2 separate regions of the Homo sapiens genome follow, and region 1 is linked to region 2. The links are contacts of gene promoters, found by promoter capture Hi-C in blood cells and fetal thymus (Javierre and others, 2016). All regions are on one chromosome and are shown on one strand. Each heading gives the region's core, a stretch centred on a gene start or on the middle of the fragment in contact. The rest is flanking DNA. Distances are from core to core; before and after follow the strand shown. Region 1 holds the start of LOC101929154 (a long non-coding RNA gene). Region 2 holds the start of OTP (orthopedia homeobox).

Evidence for each region. Contacts are between HindIII fragments. The CHiCAGO score rates a contact against its expected background, and 5 or more counts as called.
Region 1: a contact is called between a fragment that was not itself captured here and the fragment with the promoter of OTP in region 2, in 1 of 17 cell types (megakaryocytes). The highest score is 6.8, in megakaryocytes.

Annotation. Positions count from the first base shown.
Region 1 is chr5:77,882,475-77,886,893 of GRCh38, forward strand. It overlaps LOC101929154 (a long non-coding RNA gene), which reads left to right and starts at 2,182. Exons shown (of 2, transcript NR_105012.1): 1 at 2,182-2,351. The HindIII fragment of the contact is 2,488 bases long and covers 1,010-3,497 here.
Region 2 is chr5:77,637,248-77,641,839 of GRCh38, forward strand. It overlaps OTP (orthopedia homeobox), which reads right to left and starts at 1,466. Exons shown (of 3, transcript NM_032109.3): 1 at 1,266-1,466. The coding sequence starts at 1,302. RefSeq lists enhancers at 1,452-2,008, 2,009-2,563. The HindIII fragment of the contact is 2,017 bases long and covers 471-2,487 here.

The sequences.
Region 1 (4,419 bases), core at 1,004-3,503, 250 kb after region 2:
TTAGAAATGGCATTCCGCTTTGTTGCCCAGGCTGGTCTCAAACTCCTGACTTCAGAGGATCCTCCTGTCTCAGCCTCCCAAAGTGCTAGGGTTCCAGGCATGAGCCACTGCGCCCTGCCCGGAGCCTTATGTTAACATGTCTATTACAGGACCTGACATGAAGAAGAGACTTAATAAAAGGTGATTGTCCTTCCCTTTTCTATGAAGCAGGAAGGGGAGCTATTATTATCTTCATTGTACAGAAGAGAAAGCTGAGGCCCAGAGAGATAAAGTGGCTTGCCCAGAGTTTCACAAATACAGGATTGGAGCCCCAACTTGTGCCTAGCTCTTTAACATACCACCTCACCAGCCCACACAGGAAGGCAATGACTGTGCACTGCAGATATTTGTGCAGGATGTGTATATTACATGATTTGGGGCTGACGCAACTTGTCTTGTACATATTGTTTTATGTGACTTTACTCTGCCTTTCTGCCTGTGCTGATCATGCCCCAAGAGCTGGGCCAGGCCTTGTGCCCTTGCAGAATCTGCCTCTGCAGCTCAGTGATAGTTGCTCAGCAAGTGCTGATCCACTAGCCCATTTCCTTCCTTCCTTCCTTCCTTCTTTCCTTCCTTCCTTCCTTTCTTTCTCTTTCTTTCTTTCTTCTTTTTTTTTTTTTGACAGAGTCTCGCTCCGTCACCCAGGCTGGAGTGCAACGGTGAGATCTCACCTCATTGCAAACTCTGTCTCCCGGGTTCAAGCGATTCTCCTGCCTCACCCTCCCAAGTAGCTGAGATTACAGGTGTGCGCCACCATGCTTGGCTAATTTTTGTATTTTCAGTAGAGGCGAGGTTTCATCATGTTGGCCAAGTTGGTCTCGAACTCCTGACCTCATGATCTACCCACCTCGGCCTCCCAAAGTGCTGGGATTACAGGCATGAGCCACCTTGCTCTGCTGACCATTTTCAAGTGCTTGCAAATCTGTCCACCCAGAGAGGACATAGTAGCACATTTAATAATTAAGAGAAAAGCTTGGTTTTCAGGAACTTTGTCATCTGAGTTTGATAATTATGAAGGGTATAAGAATTCATTTTATGGTATGGTAGGAAAAGAATAACACTACCTAAAATGCTCAGATGATTTATTAAGGGTTCTTATTTGTAGGGACAGCCTCCCATTTTTCTCTCATGTGATGTCCAGCAGGTGGTTCTGACCTGACTAGTACACATTCTTTAACTAAAGACAGAGCACTGCTAGGCGGCAGACACAGACCTGTGCCCCAGGCTGTAATGGTGAGACAGGCATAATCCCTGATCATGGAACCTATGGGCACAAGGCAGTCAACAGTTAAATACACACAATATTTATAAGTTACAATGAATTAAACGAAGGAAAAGACGAGGAACTAAGAGACAGCCTAATTGGAGGATCTCATTTAGATTGGGAGGCTGGGGAAAGTCTCCATGAAGAAGTGTTATCTACACTGAAACCTGAGAAAAGTTGGTAGAATTCAGGCCAAAAGTGGGAGAAGGAGCATTTCAGACAGAGGGATCAACCTTGTGGAAGCCCTGTGGTGGGAGAGAGCTTAGAATTGAAATGAGGTTAGGGGCCACCACAGGGAAACTGGAGACACATAAGTGATGGGAGCTTGGCCAGGACCAACTTCCTGTAGGCATTCCAATTGCAATTGCCATTTATAAGTTTTCAGCAGATAAATCATATGGTCGAACTTAGGTCCTAACACATCTGTCTACTGCTAAATAGAAGAATGGGTGCCACTTAAGAATGGGTTCAATGTAACGAGGGCAAAAGTAGAAGTGAGGAGACCAGCTGTGAGGCTATTGCAGTGGTCCTGGTGTAGGATGTGGGTGGCTTGGACTTGGGTAATGGCAGTGAATTGACAGACATGAGTGAAACTGTGAGATGTTTTAGGAGTAGAATTGTTAGGACATGCGGATCAACTGTATATACAGAGTGAGAAAGGGAAAGGGTACTCTCGTGTTTCAGGGTGTCTGAATTGGTTTACTGATATCTGGGGGGATCAGAAGAGTTCAGGTCCAGCCAGGTTGCAATTGAGATGCCTCTGAGACATCCAATAGGAGGATGTCATTGGATACAGGAGTTAGGAGCTTAGATACACACTTGGGAGAACTCGGCACAGGTGGTATGAAAGTGGTGGGCTGGTGAGATTGCCTAGGGAGAGAAAACACGGAGAGGAGTCCCAGGGCTGAGCCCAGACCTCTGAACAGAAGAAGGAGTCATGGAGAAACCCAGAAGAATGAGGTGTCACAGGCAAAGAAAAATTGGATGCTCCGGAAGGAGAGAGGTCTGTCTCACGAAGAGAGATAAAAGCAGCTGGGACCACATAGAGGTAATTGTTGATGCTGATGAGAGAAGAGGGCGGAGGGTGGAAAAGGAAGGGAGCCACTGAGCTGAGAATGGGAGACAGGAAAGAAACAGCATTCTGTGGTCAGCCTGGTGAGAAATGTGGCTCTCAGAAAGCAGAGAGAGAACAGTTGGAGGAGCTCATGGGCACACGGGGGATGTCTGACTGGTTGTGTTTTCTGTTGGAAAATATTAGAGCTCCTCTGTGTGTTAGGGAAGGGTCAAGTAGAGAGGGCAAGGGAGAAGATGCTGGAATGAGGAGAGCCAAGGTCCTGAGGACACCTGACCTTGGCACTACACAGGACCTGCAGCCCAGACGCTTCCTAAGCAAGCCTCTTGCCTGGGGAATAAAGAGCTGATTTTTCCAGTGACTTCATGGGCACTGGGGTCCTATGGAACCTCTAAGGGGAAGGAGCAAGAGAAACAGATGTTCTTTCTTCCCTGTAGAGGGAGGAAGAGGGAAGACAAAGATGAAAAAGGGAAGAAAGGAGGAAGGAAGGGAGAAAGGAGAAAACAAAGATGGCCAGTCTTCTCTTCTCCCCAGGTGGTTGGGATAACAGCGAGGCCAAATCCCAGATGATATGGGGGAGGGCTGCAACCTCTCAGGAGGGCTGTCTCCCCCAGAAAAAGCCTAGGACTTACCTAGACTTAGGAGGTTGTCATCAAGCCTTGTCTTTCCTGCAGACCTCAACGTCTTGTCAGTCCAGAAAAACTTCAAGGGCAGCAGCCAGAATCCCAGGGCTGAGAAACCTGACTTTCCTCTCTTTGTACCTCCCAATTCCCCTCCTAGGTCCTGAGCCACAGGGAATTGTGTGATTTCAATGAGCTATGGCAAGAGCATTTTCCCTTCCCATCAACTCAGTCACGTTTCCTGTAGTGGAGACGGGAGCATGGGGAGGGAGGAGCGGGAGAAAGAAGGCTTACCCTGGCAGTATTCATTCACTCTCTGAGGCATGAGATTTGATTACCAGTCTTTTAACATGCATGACAGCAAATGCTAATATTTGCCACAGAATTTTCTAGCCACCTTTTAAATCCATCTACAGTGTTAGGCTCTTTGACCCCTAGAGGTAGGGAATGCCACAGGCTGCCTTCATGCTACTGAACGTTGTTGCCTCCTCTATAGCAATAAAGCTTTTCTTGAAATATAAGGCATAAGAACAAAGAAAATTCCAGATTTCTGGGAGTAAATACTACAGTTCATTAAACCACCTGCTTACTTCATACAAGCTAGCAATGACTCTCCAGTCTCCCGCCTAAAACTCCAGTTAGTCTTCTGTGCATGAGATGTCTTTTCTATTGTGATTGCCATTCTTGGCTCATTGTTTGAAAAGGGATATTACAAATAAAAATAACAACCATCCCTGGTTAATATGCTTATTACTTTACACATCTTTCTCAACTTTTTCCAAACTTACTGGTAGACCAGAAAGAAATCTAACTTCTTTTAGGCTTGAGTTCCATTGTCTAAAAGTAGTAACCATTTTCTTTCTTTCTCCCTTTTTCTTTTCTTTTCTTTTTTTTCTTTTGAGAAGAAGTTTTGCTCTTGTTGCCCAGGCTAGAGTGCAGTGGTGCAATCTCGGCTCACTGCAACCTCTGCCTTCCAGTTTCAAGTGATTCTCCTGCCTCAGCCTCCCAAGTAGCTGGGATTCCAGGCGCCTGCCACCACACCCTGCTAATTTTTGTATGTTTAGTAGAGACGGGGTTTCACCATGTTGCCCAGGCTGGTCTCAAACTCCTGACCTCATGATCTGCCCACCTCGCCCTCCCAAGGTGCTGGGATTACAGATGTGAGCCACTGCGCCTGGCCAGGTATGACCATTTTCTAATGTTTAGGAGGAGGGGAGCTTGGGGGCAGTATCTAAAACTGTCAGCTAGAGGAGGGGCAATCTTGAAGTTCAAAAGCAGGAGACACCCCAGATCTCCTTCTGCAGAGCTTTAACATCCCACCTCTCACTGCTTCTTGTAATATTCATCAGAGTCGTAAAAACTATTATCCAGCATAATATCTTTTAAATTGTTGGCAAAGAGTCACTTTAGAAGAGTGGCCTCCC
Region 2 (4,592 bases), core at 216-2,715:
TCGCGGTCACTACTTTCTTGGCGATGCCAGGAGGGGCTGTCTTCCCCGCGCAGCCTTCCTTCAACCCGTCCTCGGCCCCCTCCGCACCCGCGCTTGTCCTAAGGAAGAAACTCCCAGGGTATTCAGCTGGGTTCCCCAGAATTTGGACAGCCGGGTTGGAATAATATCTCCCGGCCCCTTGCCCTCGCCGCAGCCGGCTCCCGTAGTAAACAGCACAAGCTTTCGTCTCTCCCACAATAAAACACTCCCAGTCCCGGCAATAAAACATGCCTCTGAATCCCTTCCATAAACCGTACCCCAGGCGCCCCAGGAAATCGAGAGCAAATCTTTGGACACAGGGGTGCGGGGGGCAGAAAGAAAATTAAACAATTCCTCGGTTGCTGCGGCACCTGCGCTTCGGCAGCCTGACGAACTGTACCTCCGGCCCTCAGCCGATTCCCTCTTACTTTCGGAAGATGAATAAGCCTCCAAGCTTTCACCCCCCGAAATCAACCCAAATCAGCTCCGCCTCCCCCTCAAATCAGAGAAAGTGTTTGGAAAATGGAGTCACATCCATCACCGAAGATTCCCAATCCGGAAACCCAGAGCTCAGCAACCCAGATAGCATTAAGGAAACTCGAGTGAACTCTATGGACAACCGTGAATCAAACTTTAGAGATTTCAACTTTTCTTTCCAGAGAAATAAAAGGCGCATTCCTCACAGCCATTGGCAACGCTGAGTCCCTTGCAGAAGAGGGGGGGATGACTGTGAGGTTGAATTTGGCTTCTCTCCTTCTCAACCAGCACACTTAGCAAATCCGCCTTGATGGCAGCAGCTTCTCCTTTATGCCAGATTTTTTACAAATTACACCACACTTAGAAAAGGAGGAGAGAAGAAGATGGTGGGGAGAGAGAAACGGGGGGAGGGAAGGAGAAAGAAATCCCAAATCAAAACAAACAGGAGAGGGAAAAAAGAGAGAGAAACACCTCCTAACAAATTATCACGGGGTATATCGCCTTTCGAAAAAAAAAAAAAGGCGGGGGAGGGGGGAAGAGAAAAATAAGAAAAACAAAAAGTAACAACATTCCCCAACTCCTTTCTTGGATCTACATATTCCATAGATTTTTTTTTAAAGGCGATGTTAAATCAAATTAAACTTTAATGCAGCACAATTACTTTTAAAGAAATTAGTCCATTTAGGTCGCATTAAGGTAAAATAAGGAACAAATTGACAATTTCCTGCCCCGGCTTCTCCTGGCTGCCCGGGCGAGAGGCGCGCACTCACCTAGCCTGGCGTCCAGGAGGTCGGCATGAGACAGCATCGCGCACCGCTCCAGGGCGAAAGCTGTTCCCCCCCAAATTTTAGCGGCTTTAAGTTATTTAAAATAGATATAAGCTATAAGCTATACGATATAGATATATATAGATCACCTAAATGAAAGAAAATTCGGTTTGTGGTTAAAAAGGGGGCTTCTTGCATTATAATGTCCTTTAGAGAGACGGGGAGGTGCTTAACAGTTGAATGAACCCGTGAGCAGCTCGGCGAGGGGACCAATCAGGAGGGCAGCCTGCAAATGTCAGCGCCCGGAGAGTCCCCCACTCCGCCCGCCCGCTCGCCTGCGCCCGCCTGAAGGAGGCGGCGGCGGCAGCCCTGGCAGCTCCAGCCCGGAGCAGGAGCTAAAGCAGCCTCAGCCGCCTCGGCCTCGCCCTGAGCTTCTGGGCCCGGCTCCCTCTAGTTCTTCCCTGCGATTTTCTCCAGGCTCCCCTTTCCTTCCCCTTGGCCGGCGCTGCGCGCTTCGAAGGCGTAGCTCTGTGCCTCTGAGCTAACATCTTCCTAGGGCAGGGGCAGAGCAGGGGTCAGAGCGGGCCATGACCCTGGCGTGACCTGAGGGTCGCCCCCACCTGCGCTCTCTGGGCCTGCCGCTCATATTGGCCCGCCAGCCCAGGGCGCGACGAGGGCACACCGCGGCCTTCAGACAACGCCTGGACTTCGCCGCGGCTCAGTAGGCCTGCGCCTAGGGTCCAGGCGCCCTGGCTGTGCCCTGGGGTCTATACGAGCCCCAACCCCACAGTGGGCCTAGAGCGCAAAGAGGAGTCGGCTTCCCTGGCACCGCCAGCGCCCGCTGTCTGCTTTGGGGACCCTCGCGGAGTGTGGGTTCGAGCGCTCTGCACTCTTCTCACCGGGCTTCTTCCCGGCTCCTGCTCTTCCGCTTGGCCCACGCCCGCATCCTCGCCCCTAACTCGCTCTTTTGGTCAAAGTTTCTAAGTTCAGCTCGGCTCCCAACTCCACTTAAGGCTGTAAATAAAGTTAAATGCTCTTTATTTTCCTCTTGAATATGTTAAACTACTTGAACAATTTAAAGTGCTTTGCACAAGTGAAGCGAACCATTTCTAATGTTCTGATTTTTCAGAGCCAGCCAACAACAAAGTTTAGATTAGTAATATATTTCTAACCAGAGTAATTTTCAAGATCATTAGGCATTTATGTAATTAGTGCCAAATCTATAAGCTTTTATTACGATTATTAGAGTAAAATCAGTATAAATTTGTACTAATTTACTACTGTTTAGACTTGGCTGTCAAGCCTAGAGGTTCTTATTGTAAATGATAACTGAGGAAATTAAGTGCAAAATTCTGTACCATTTCTGATCTGCTCCTAAACAATCCGTTTCAATTGTATTTGTAGCAGAACATAATGCCCTTTTAAAGTTATTTGACTTGTATTTTTATTTGCAACACAAGAAAAATGCCCTCTACCCAGTCACAATGAAAACTGATATTTACTACTCCCAACTTGATTAACATTGATTTTTAATTCGAGAGTGATGCAATTAAGATTATTCATTTAGTGCAAATAAACCTTCCACAAAAGGGTGGCCCAATGAAGTCTGTTTTAAATAATACTGAGCAAATGGCTTTTTTTGTTCGCCGTCCAATTGACTTAGACAAAACATTGAAAATGCTGGCTGAGAGCAGATGCGAGAGGAATTGTGTGTGTGTGTGTGTGTGTGTGTGTGTGTGTGTGTGTCCTCAGCTGTATGTGTGACAGGGACCGAGCAAGGAGACAAAGGAGGCGGCAAAGCGAACTCTCGGGCAGTTTTGTTTCCTCCTTCCCTCCTGCAGCCCGTTCGCCTCCTCTCCTGCACACACACGTGCGCGCGCACACATATGCACACACGTGTGAATGCAGGGTATTGGCCACACCAGTTTCTTCTGAGCTGCGGAGACCGCTTCCCGGGAAGCTCCGGGCCGGACTGGGTTTCAGCGGCTGCTGCAGCTGCTACCAACGCGGCCTATGTGGGACTGGGCGCCGGGGTCGTGGACTCAGGCTCGCGGCGTGTCTGGGAGCCGCTAGGGTTTTTGGCAAGCGGCCGCAGCCCTTCTGAGAAACGCTTTGCCTGGGAGGAGAATTCCGAGACCTAAAGCAAACAAAGTCTCCCCAATAAAAGCTTTCTTTGCCCCCAAACAAAACCTCAAATCTAGAAGCTAGAGCGCTGGGAGCGCACAGCAAAAGGAGGCCAGACAGCAGCCCAGGGAGGGGCGGCGTGAGCTCAGGACGGTGACTCGGGAGTACGCACCGGCCCGCGCACGTCCAGGGACTCGCAGGAGGTTTCTGCCCACCTGGGTGGGGCTTGCAGGGTGTCCACACCGGAACGCAGGGTCAGAAGTGGGGGGAAAGTGGCTAAGGAAGAGACAGGGAGACCTGGCTCCAGAACCCTGCTCCCAGAAATAGGCAGGTCCGCCAGGCCGCACAGCCTGGCTCCACACGCTGTCTGGAGGGAGGGAGAAGGGGCCGCGACCTGGGGAGACAAGGATAAGGGCGCGGGGCCGCGCGTCTCCACGTGCGTGCACACAAGCGCTAGTGTCCCCATCCCACAGTCGCCCCCGGAACGGCGCCGGCTGTGCAGCGATCTCCCACACGCACTCGCTCGTATATTCTGTTTTGTTGTATCTTTCAGGTCGATAAATGAATGTGTAATAGTTAATGTGAAGACACATCAGAGTAATAACAATGGGACGAAATCAAAGGATTATCCATCTCTGTTAGTAACCGCTGAATAACAATGTTGCGGCATGATTGATAGCCCGCTTCATTTTATGACTTTTCTATTGGTCTTGATTTTTATAGCAGTATAAACAAACTAAATCATTTCTTGCAAGACTTCAGAGCATAAGCATCTCGGGGGGGGGAAGGGAGAAAGGAAAGAAAAAAAAAGGGAAATCTGAGAGTGGGAAGGGGGCGGTGTGGGGCGTCGAGGCGGGGAGGGCGCAGGCTGGAGTTGGAGCCAGGTGCCCGCCGCCAGCAGGCAGAGCGAGAAAAACGACAATAGCCTGGATGTAAAAAGCTCCCCCCTGCTCCCGGTTCCCTCTCGGTAGCTCGTTTTGGCCAATGTCTGAATCCACCTGGGTAGCGCCTGATATGTATTTACCAGAGTTTTATTCCCCGTCATCTTCCCACGTTCCTGGGGCAGCCGGGAAAGTGCCGGTCAGGCCCATTGCTGTTGATAATTTAAGGCATTTCCCACATGATCATGGGAACTGAAGTCCCTAACAAGGCGAAGCTTTAGCGCAATGGCCCCCAAATCTTCGGAATGACAAGAATGTCTTCAGA